Linked DNA regions of Homo sapiens: region 1 is linked to region 2. Evidence: promoter capture Hi-C in 16 types of primary human blood cells and fetal thymus (Javierre and others, 2016). All regions are on one chromosome and are shown on one strand. The core of a region is centred on a gene start or on the middle of the fragment in contact, and the rest is flanking DNA. Distances in the headings are between cores, read along the strand shown. Region 1 holds the start of C16orf46 (chromosome 16 open reading frame 46). Region 2 holds the start of MPHOSPH6 (M-phase phosphoprotein 6).

Region 1 (5,531 bases), core at 2,548-5,047, 1.1 Mb after region 2:
TTTTCATATTTCCTGGTCTACTCTTAATCAGTCCCTTAGCAAATTTTACTATAAAAATATTTAAATGGGACAGGCGCGGTGGCTCACGCTTGTAATCCCAGCACTTTGGGAGGCCGAGGCAGGCGGATCACGAGGTCAGGAGATCGAGACCATCCTGGCTAACACGGTGAAACCCCGTCTCTACTCAAAATACAAAAAAATTAGCCGGGCATGGTGGCGGGCGCCTGTAGTCCCAGGTACTTGGGAGGCTGAGGCAGAAGAATGGCATGAACCCCACATGCGGAGCCTGCAGTGAGCCAAGATGATGCCATGCACTCCAGCCTGGGCAACAGAGCGAGACTCCGTCTCAAAAAAAAAAAAAAAAATTTTTAATGGGAATCTCAGGGAAGAGGGGGAGGTTGAATGTTCTAAATAAAGGTGGGAAGCAAAAGTGGCCATTCTAGAGTATGAAAGTCCGTGAGTGGTTATAGTCTCTGAAGAAGGTGGGCAGTTTTTTATTTTTCCCTTTTCCTGCCAAAGACACACATAACTTGCTCTGTAACAACCCCTCTTTTTTCAAAGAGCAGAACATTTGGCAACTTGCTCTTCCACTATTTAGAACACAGAGCCAAATCCACTGTCATTGATGTCACAGTGCTGCCAAAAATACAGGCTTTGAATGGCCCTCCAAATTGACTGAATCCAGGGAATTTAATTTTCATGACCTCATATTCCTTTTGAATGGTTTTGGCATTAGTAGAGCAGATTAATAGAAGTTTTGAAGAAAGCTTTCTAGTAACTAAAACTTGAGAAACTGAATAGGTTACCCTGCAAGTGTTAAATTTTTTTTCTGCTATCACCTCCCAGGTAGTTTTGTCGTTAGCTTTAGGTTTTGTTTTGTTTTTTGTTTTGTTTGAGACGGAGTCTCGCTCTTTTGCCCAGGCCCTCCACCTCCCGGATTCAGGCAATTCTCCTGCCTCAGCCTCCAGGGTAGCTGGGAATACAGGCACCCGGACCACGACCATGCCCAGCTAATTTTTGTATTTTTAGTAAAGATGGGGTTTCGACATGTTGGCCAGGCTGGTCTCAAACTCCTGACCTCAGATGATCCACCCGCCTCGGCCTCCCAAAGTGCTGGGATTACAGGTGTGAGCCACCGCGCCTGGCCAGTTTTAGGTTTTAATAAACCACTAGGGAGCTCTGCATGGGCATACTACTATGAAAATGAGGCTGGCCATTCAGATCAGTTCCTCAGCAAATCAGAATTTCTGAATTTTTTCAATTTCTTTTCTTTTTCTTTTTTTTTTTTTTTTTTTTTTTTTGAGATGGAGTCTGGCTCTGTCGCCCAGGCTGGAGTGCAGTGGCGCGATCTCGGCTCACTGCAAGCTCCGCCTCCCGGGTTCACGCCATTCTCCTGCCTCAGCCTCCCGAGTAGCTGGGACTACAGGCGCCTGCCACCTCGCCCGGCTAATTTTTTGCATTTTTAGTAGAGACGGCCTTTCACTGAGTTAGCCAGGATGGTCTCGATCTCCTGACCTCGTGATCCATCCGCCTCGGCCTCCCAAAGTGCTGGGATTACAGGCGTGAGCCACCGCGCCCAGCTGCTGAATTTTTCCAATTTCTATAGTTTTTCTGGGGCTACTAAAAAGAGCACAGTTTAAAAAATTATGCTAACTACAAGCGTGTCTTTTTTACTGTGTTCTTTCAGACCAAATCACACCTTCCTTCCCATACTTAAAGAGGTGCCTTTCTTTACACCAGGATTAAATTCCTCTTTCTTCCCTGCAACAGGCCTTTCCTGCCGCCCAGGCTGGAGTGCAATGGTGCGATCTTGGCTCACTGCAACCTCCACCTCACGGGTTCAGGTGATTCTCCCACCTCAGCCTCCTGAGTAGCTGGGATTACAGGCGTCCATCACCACACCCGGCTAATTTTTGTATTAGGGTTTTGAAATGGGGTTTCGCCATGTTGGCTGGGCTGGTCTTGAACTTCTGACCTCAAGTGATTGACCCGCCTCAGCCTCCCAAAGTGCTGGGATTACAGGTGTGAGCCACCGCACCCACCCATCTCCCTTTAATTTTAAAAAATAGATATGGGGTCTTGTGACACTTCCCAAGCTGGTCTCAAGTGATTCTCCTGCCTTAGCCTCTCCTGTGAGTAACTGGTATTACAGACGCAAGCCACCACTCCTGGCTTTTTTTCTTTAAAATACATTTTATGTGTTAGAGGAAGTTTACAGTCACAGCAAAATTGAGGAGAAGGTACAGTTCTGTACGCTTCCATTCTCCGTTTTTGCAAAGTGGGATCTTACTATAAGTAGAGTTTCTGGTATCTTGACTCAATTCCTATGTTGACTTTTTATAAACATAACTAGCCAAACCCTTGTCCCTTCATGTTTCCACTCAATCATGCTATCGGGCTTTTACCTGCTAAATGCAGGAATAGTTAGTGTGAAGGAAGTCAGGTTCTAGATCCTCCAACTTCCCCATGTACTTGCCGTTAGGTTATTTAATTAATATTCATTTAGCAAATCTTAGTTAAGACTTTTGGTATACTTCCCAGAAACTTTTTTCTAATATGCAAGGTCTTGCACTGTTTCCCAGGCTGGAGTGCAGTGACACAATCATAGCTTACTGCAACCTTCAACTCCTGGGCTCAAGGGAGCCTCCTGCCTCAGCTGGGATTCCAGGTGTGAGCCACGGTGCCCAGCTGTTTTCAATAGATCTGAAGGAAGACCAAAACAAATTGTCAACTGATAAAACATTTAAATGTTTTTGGTTAATACTTACTAGCTTGAGATACAATAAAACCCCTTTTATTTGCATCTTCCTATTTATGTGAACAAGGTACCTAAGCTTACACGTATGAAAAAAGTTGGAATAGAATTATAGCTGAATCCGTCTCATTGGAGCAATCACAGTGCTAGAGAACTTAGATACCAAAATTTTTTTTGAGACTTGAGTTTTGCTCTCCAGGCTGGAGTGCAGTGGTGCCATCACAGCTCACTGCAACCTCCGCCACCCGGGTTCGAGCCAGTCTCCTGCCTCAGTTTCCCAAATAGCTGAGATTACAGGCGCCCGCCACCACACCCGGCGAATTTTTGTATTTTTAGTAGAGACACGGTTTCGCCATGTTGACCAGGCTAGTTTCGAACTCCTGATCTCAGGTGATACACCCACCTCGGCCTCCCAAGTGCTGGGATTACAGGCGTGAGCCACCGCGCCTGGCCTAGATACCGGTTTTCTACAGCAGAAATAGTCACACTTTCTAAAGCAGAAGGGCTTTGGAGTCAGACCCGAGCTGGAGTGGGGGATGCTTTGCGATCTCTCTTCAGCAAGCTGTTGTTTTAGGGACGTGGGGCCACCTTCCTTTATTTGTATAAAAGATGCCACTGCCCACTTAAGAGCTGTGCTGCTCCGGGCCAGCAGTTCAGCGAGTGCCCGTCGGCCTGGTGCTGTCGGTCACGTAAGTGGGCTCTTTGAGGCTCACAACGCGTCCTCCCTGGACGTTCTGGGCCTGTTAAGTTTGTGTCCGTGGGAAACGCTCACGGCGGTTCCCCAGAGGGCCGAGGGAGAAAAGTGAGGACGTTTCTGGCCGCCTGGCATCTGCTAAATATCCTAGCAGGCACAAGGGCTCCCCAACGGGACTCGCCGACCCGAGAGCCCGGGTGGGCCTCAAGCCCCGCCATCTGAGACCCTCCGTCGCTGGCCCTTCCGGCGGCAGCGCCCGGAGCGGATAGGAGATGCCACGAACCGCCTCGCCAGTGCTAGGCTTTGTTGGGCTACGTCACTTCCGCCGCGGTCCCGCCCCCAGCGTGGTCGTAACCCAAGGCAACGGCCCATCCGGCAGCGACCTGAGTAGCTCTTGCCAGTAGGCCGGGACTAGCTGTCTCGGGGCCTTCCATCCGCTTGGCCCCACAGGTAGGTGTGAGCGGCCATTTCTCCACCCCTGGGGCAAGGCCCGGGACCACTCCAAAGGCGACAGAGCGAGAGTCCCTGCCTCGTTCGAAAGGAAGCGAGAGGGAGCGAAAGGCAGAGGCACTATGTGCCGGGGCTTCCCCAGAGCGGGCGGGGTCTGGGGAGGGGCGGGGCCTGAGGAGGATCCGTTGGGAGCGGAACCCTTTAAGGGTGGGTAGACGGAGGACGGGGAGGAATTCGAACGGGCAATCCAGAACGCTTTTCTGAATGGGATAGTTTGAAAGAAGGGCAGGCGTCTTTGTGGCACGGTAGGAACTGGCGGAGGAAGGGGAAGAGCTAGATGAGGAAAAAAGGCTTATGGCATAAAGGGAGGAGCCTGATAGAGAAAGGGGTGTGGCCTGCAGGAAGGGGCGGGGCTAGATGAAGAGGTGGAGCCGAGCGTGATGCGCCTGGGCTTTAGGGGTGGCAGGTGGAGCGCGTGTGTTTGATGACTTGCGCTTTGCTGTGGACTGTAAGCTGTGTGAGAGTAGAGAAGACGGATGCTGCTTTAGCTTTTTATTCTCAGTGCTAGGTACTTAGTGAATTCATTAATGTGAGTTGAAAAAGGGGAAGAGTTTGAGACTGAGATTGGAATAGATGTGGTCTGATCGGGAGGGATGGTGTAGAAACTGCGCTCCTTGGCATCATTCTGTGAAATACTTGAGGTTCCTGTGACCTGTAGGCATATAATAAGCAGAAGGCACATATAATTAACAAGGAGGATAAAATTTATACTCTTGGAAATATGAACAAATTGTGCAAGTTGGGTGGCGCGGGTGCTTAACTTTCAGACAAAGGTTCAGCTCCTTCCAGTGTGTTTCTAAATGCGACTCCCAACTCATTTTCCTGTAGAAACTGTGTCACAAATGATCAGGATGCCCAGGTCAGTCTTCAGGACCTATTTAACTGGTTCATGTAAGTGAAGATTGGTCCTGTATTAAGAAACTTAACTTCTGCCATGGCTAACAATATTTCTAATGATTATTCCTTCATTCAGCATAGGTTGTTAAGGAGCCGACCCACAGGAACGTTCATTCAAATTCCAAATGAGGCTGCCAGAAACTCATCTTTCCCTGGTTGGAATTTAAGATTCCTTTAAACCTATAGCTTGTAGGAAGATGAGGGTGTGTGGCACAGTGGAGAGCCAATGAGAAGTTGAGGCAAGGTGATAAGGAGTTTTGAGAGATTACCATCTATCTGCTTTTGACATAAACAGCTTGCGTTTGACTTAATACCCTGGGCCTTGGTTTCTCCTGGTCCTTCAACATTCCCCTGCCCTTAATGGATTAGGAATCTGTCAACCAGGTATAGGAAGCTACGGTAAGATATTTGTAATCTGACTATATAGACAGACTGGCAAACATGTGGCACACTCTATTTTCTGGCAGACATAATTAATCAACCCCAGAAATTTTTCCTGCTATAGTCAGGTCATAAGATCCTTCTCAATACAACACTCTAGGTAGCCACTAGTTTGGAGTTGACAATTCAGAATTTTCTTTGTTTTGTTTTGAGACAGTCTCACCCTGTTACCCAGGTTGGAGTGTAGTGGTGCAATCTCGGCTTACTGCAACCTCTGCCTCTCGGGTTCAAGCG
Region 2 (5,225 bases), core at 1,260-3,759:
TTCTCCCTTCACCTCTACTCTCACAGCAGTTCTTTGAGAATCCCACAGAAAAACCAAACTTATAGAGACAGAAAGTAGTCGTGAGGACCTGAGGAATTAGTGTTTAATGGGAACAAGAGTTTTCATTTTGCAAGATGAAGAGTCCTATGGTGGTAAAAGCAGCATAACAATGTGAATGATTGGTGGGCCTTTTCCCTGATTAACTCCTCTCTACGTTTAGGAGAGTCCTCATTTCCAGGCCAGAATGGTTTAGGTACCCTCGTTGTACCCTTTCATGACCCTCAAACTTTCCTTACCGGGCTCTCATCACAACTGTCATCTACAGCTAATTGTATGGTATATTAGTCTGCTACGGTTACTATAAGAAAACACTACACACTGGGTGCCCTATACAGACTGGTTGTGATTTTCTCACAGTGCTGGAGGCTAGAGGTCTAAGATCAAGGTGTTGGCAGGTTTGGTTTCTCCTGAGAGATTTTTTAAATTTTTTTTATTTTTTTGGCTTTCAGATAGTCTTTCCTTTATGCAAACACAACCTTGGTGTCTGTGTCCAAATTTCCTCTTCTTATGACGACATCAGTCAGACTGGATTAGGGCTCACCCTAAGGGTCTTGTTTTAATCACCTCTTTAAAAAGGACTGTCTCCAAATACATTCACATTCTGAGGCACTGGGAGTTGGAACTTCAACATATGAATTTTGGGGGATGCAATGTGGCTTATGATTAACCTCTACTGTTTCCACTTGTAAAACTTTTAACACGGACTTTGTCTTGTTCATATCTGAGGACCTTTACAGTTGATGCTGTCTTCTGAGCACACTCTACCTCCAACTCTTCATAAAACACGTTTTTCTCAACTTTCAAGCCTTAGCACCATCATCTGACAAGGGCCGTTCCAAACCACCTGGTCTAAAGTAACCCTAAGCGTTACTCTGTCACATCACTGTTTTCTCTCTTTCATAGCAGTCGCCACTTACTTACGTCCAGAATATCAGCTTCAGGAAAGGTGGGGATATGTGTTTTTACACGCTATTATACCCCCGGCATCTCACACACAGTCACAAGTGAATGAGATTCTGTAGCCACTTGGTACATTACAATGATTTTATTTACCCCTGGGAAAACCTAAAGGGCTTTTAACATCCAAATCGGTGTTTGAATTTCAGCTCTAACATGGATTAGCTGTGTGAACACCAAGTGCGTTACCCACTCTGTGTCTCAGAATCCTTAACAACACGATGACAATACCTTCTTTCCGGTTCTTATGGGGATTAAGTGAACTAATTAGCCCTAAGGTGACCAGGTCAACAATCTGACGTAGAACTCATGGTATCAGCCGAGATGCTATTAGCTTGAGGGTGTTCCAAAGCGTCGGACCTGGGAATGGTTTTCGAAAACGTGTTTAGGTGGTACCCAGAGCATTAAACACCAGGGTAGGAACGCTACCCTATTTTCAGTGGTTTTTTAAATTCTTTTTTGTTTTGTTGTTTTGTTTTTGAGACAAAGCCTCACTCTGTAGCCCAGACTGGAGTCCAGTGGCGGGATGTCAGCTCACTGCAGCCTCGACGTCCCGGGTTCCAGTGATTCTCCAGCCTCAGCCTCCCAAGTAGTGGAGACCACAGATCCGTGCCACCACACCCAGCTATTTTTGTTGTATCTTTTGTACATTTTTTGTATATTTTGTATATATTTTTTGTATGTATATTTTGTATATTTTTTGTGTATATATATATATATATATATATATATTTTTTTTTTTTTTTTTTTTTTTTTTTTTTTTGTAGAGGTGGGGTCTCCCTATGTTGCCCCTCGCTATGGTCTTTTCAATTCTTTGGATCAAAACCAGGCTTTGTTCTCATTCATGTGTCTTTGGCACCCATCCCTGCCTCCATCCCTTGCCATTTCTTGAGATTCTTCTGTTTAGCAGAGATCACTCGGCCAGACACGCATCGGCAGCAGCCTGGGAATGAAGCCAGCCTGCCTGGGGCGGCCCCCGCCGCGCTCCCCCGGGACTCCGGGCTGCTGTGAGGAAAGCAGCAACTCGTGGGGTCCTGGTGAAGAGAAAACGACCTGGACCCTGCAAAGCGACCCAGAACAAAGGGAGCCCGCCACCCACGTTATGAAGACAAAACACGTGGGTAACACGGCCCAGGCGGGTGGCAGGCGTGGCGGAAACCTCTCTGAGGCTGGCGAGGACTACTGAGTGTGGAGGGGGTCCCTGAGGAAGGGAGTCCCCGAGGGAGGATGGGCCTCCGAGGGGGCCAGGCCGACGTCCCGGGAAGGCGACCCGCGGCTCGGGGAAGCCAAGTTCTGGGTCGTCCTCTGACTTCGGCTTTTTTGCGGTCTGCCGCGCTCATCCCCGCGCCCGCCACCCCGCGAGCTTACCCGAGCCTCTCAGTCAGCAGAGCGCCCGCTGAGTGGCCGCGCCCGCGCGCAAGACACAGGGGAGGGGCGGGGCGGGGCGGCGCGCACTACGCGAGGGACGCAGCTGCGCACGCGGCTCCGCGCATGTGCGGTGAGGCTCGCGGCCGGAGTGCGGCGCTGGGCGGAAGCTACCATGGCGGCCGAGCGAAAGACAAGGTTGTCCAAGAATCTACTGCGCATGAAGGTGCGGGGACGCTGAGAGCGCCACTCCGGGCGGTAGGGGCACCCGGTCCTTCCAACCTGGCCGGGGCCGAGGCGGCGGGCGGACAAGGGACACCAGAGAGGCCTCAGAGGGCTTCCAGCTCTCGTGCTCATTCATTCACTTAGCGCCTGCTCTGCACTGTTTACTGGGAACCAGCTTACGAATTAGGCCGACTCTCTCAGGAGGCCCGCGGGCGGATGGGAGCTTGAGTACACAGAAGCAGTCAGGGTACAGCTTACCCAGTGCAGTGAGGGTAGAAGCGCTGGGGACCTTGGGGACTCACCGAGCTTCTCGAGAAGTTGTTGCTTACTTATATATGCAATAAATATGATATATGGGAAGTGTAACTCCTTAGCTGGGTAATTTAGGTAAATTCACTTCTTTCTCTGAATATCTCTTTTCCTCATCTTTAAAAAGAAGAGCATTAGGCTACATGAGTTCAAGCTCCTTTTTAATTTTGATAATACTTCTTTTAGTAGAGTTCTTCAGAGAAACAGAATCAACAAGATGTATATGTGTATATATGTGTATGGAGAGAGGGGGTATTTTTAAAACTGGATCACACGACTGTGGAGATGCAAGTCTAAAATCTGCAGGGTGGGCCAGTAGGCTGGAGACCCAGAGAAGTACTCAGTCCAAGTCCAAAGACAGTCTGCTGGCAGAACTCCCTCTTCTTCCAGGGAGAAGAGGGTGAGTCTCGCAGGGTAGTCTCTAGGTTACTGGGAGGGTGGAAGGCACAGCGTCCTAAACTAGGAGAAACTGAGTTCAGAAGTCTGAGAGGCAAGAAAGAAAAAGAAAACCATGGAAATTTCCAAGAATTAGAGACAATTCAGTATGTCTGGAAGGCAAGTACTAAGAAATGGGGTTGCAGAGTAGGCAATGGTCACAACGTGCAGGGAATTTGAGGCCAGATTAAAGATATTTTCCTTTATTTTGTGAGCAATGGAAAGCTATTGAAACGGGGAACAGTATCAAGAAAATGGCAAATATTTATAGTACTAGACAATGATTGAAGTGGTTTGCGTATATTAACCTATGCAATTCACATAATGACACTTTGAGGTGACTACAGGCAGTAACTCTCTTCTTACAGCTAAGGCAACTGAAACAGAAATAAGTAATTTACCCAAAGTTACACAGCTAATAAGTAGTGTAGACAGGACGGGAATTCAGGCAGTCTGGCTCCAGAACCCTGGCTCTTTATTACTACTCTGTACTCTGTGATGCCTGTCACTAAGCACTACTTCTAGAGAGTAGCAAACTGTTACATGTCATGTTTAAAGAGGTGGAATTTCCAAAAGAGGGAAGGAAGCATTCATAATGTTTTGAAAGATAGGCCATTCGCAGTGGCTCATGCCTGTAGTCCCAGCACTTTGAGAGGCTGAGGTAGACAAATCGCTTAAGCCCAGGTGTTTGAGACCATCCTGGGCAACATGGTGAAACCCCATCTCTACAAAAAATACAAAATATTAGCCAGGCCTAGTGGCACGCACCTTTAGTCCCAGCTACTTGGGAGGCTGAGGTGGGAGGATCACTTGAGCTTGGGAGATCAAGGCTGCAGTGAGCTGAGATGGCGCCACTGCACTCCAGCCTTGGTGACACAGGGAGACCCTGTCTCAAAAAAAAAAAAAAAAGAGAGAGAGTAAACATTATATGGGCAAGATTTGAATGGAGTTGAGCTAGGATGGAGTTAGGGATGAATGGGTGAATGAGGGTGGAGGACAAATTGCAGCATAACTTAGAGTTTGTCAAGCACTTTCATGCATATTAGCAAAATTTGAATCTTTACTGAACAGAGTTTGATTTTATGGTTGGTAATAACATTAACTTCAGAGAAGTGGAGTGAATTGGCCAAGCAGATATTGGAAAGATTTTAGCAGTTGTTTTAGCTCTTGGAATAAGCCAGATGATGTACTGGGTGACTCAGGCTCAAACTAAATATCCGAGTTGCAACTAAGAAGAAAGAAATTAACTTAAATGTCCACCCCCACCAAATGGGGAGACTCAACTGGACGTTGGAAGCAAAGGAGAAGGAAAAAGATCACCCACATTCTCTATTTGGTTTAGCAGCTTTGGTCATTGATAAGAAAAAACTTACTGGCAAGATAGCAGGAGACACTGTCTATACTGATAGAACAGAGTATACTGTGAGAAGGCATGGAGTAGCTGCACTTAGGGTGCCTTAACCAGAGCTAAGTCCTATATAGCATGGGTCCCCAACCGCCAGGCCATGGACCAGCACCAGTCCATGACCTGTAAGGAACAGGCTGCACAGCAGGAAGTGAGCAGCGGGCAGGCAAGCGAGCGAAACTTCATCTGTATTTACAGCTGTTCCCCATAGCTTGCATTACCACCTGAGCTCCGCCTCCTGTCAGATCAGTGGCAGAATCCTAGATTCTCCTAGGATCAGAAACCCTACTGTGAACTGTGCATATGAGGGATCTACCTTGCGCTCTACTTACGAGAATCTAATGCCTGATGATCTGTCATTGTCTCCCATCACACCCAGATGGGACTGTCTAGTTTCAGGAAAACAAGCTCAGGTCTTCCACTGATTCTTCATTGTGGTGAGTTGTATAATTATTTCATGACATATTAT

Evidence for each region. The method cuts DNA at HindIII sites, captures the fragments that hold promoters and counts their contacts. A CHiCAGO score of 5 or more calls a contact.
Region 1: a contact is called between the fragment with the promoter of C16orf46 here and the fragment with the promoter of MPHOSPH6 in region 2, in 2 of 17 cell types (monocytes and neutrophils). The highest score is 6.7, in monocytes.

What each region holds. Positions count from the first base shown.
Region 1 is chr16:81,075,504-81,081,034 of GRCh38, reverse strand. C16orf46 (chromosome 16 open reading frame 46) reads left to right here and starts at 3,797. Exons shown (of 4, transcript NM_152337.3): 1 at 3,797-3,899. It overlaps C16orf46-AS1 (C16orf46 antisense RNA 1), which reads right to left. Exons shown (of 2, transcript XR_007065137.1): 2 at 4,437-4,611. RefSeq lists enhancers at 2,715-3,373, 3,486-3,535, 3,374-4,034, 4,126-4,265. The HindIII fragment of the contact is 28,578 bases long and covers 2,837-5,531 here.
Region 2 is chr16:82,167,508-82,172,732 of GRCh38, reverse strand. It overlaps MPHOSPH6 (M-phase phosphoprotein 6), which reads left to right and starts at 2,509. Exons shown (of 5, transcript NM_005792.2): 1 at 2,509-2,608. The coding sequence starts at 2,558. RefSeq lists a silencer at 2,374-2,533, a cis regulatory region at 2,580 and an enhancer at 2,508-2,652. The HindIII fragment of the contact is 21,548 bases long and covers 1-5,225 here.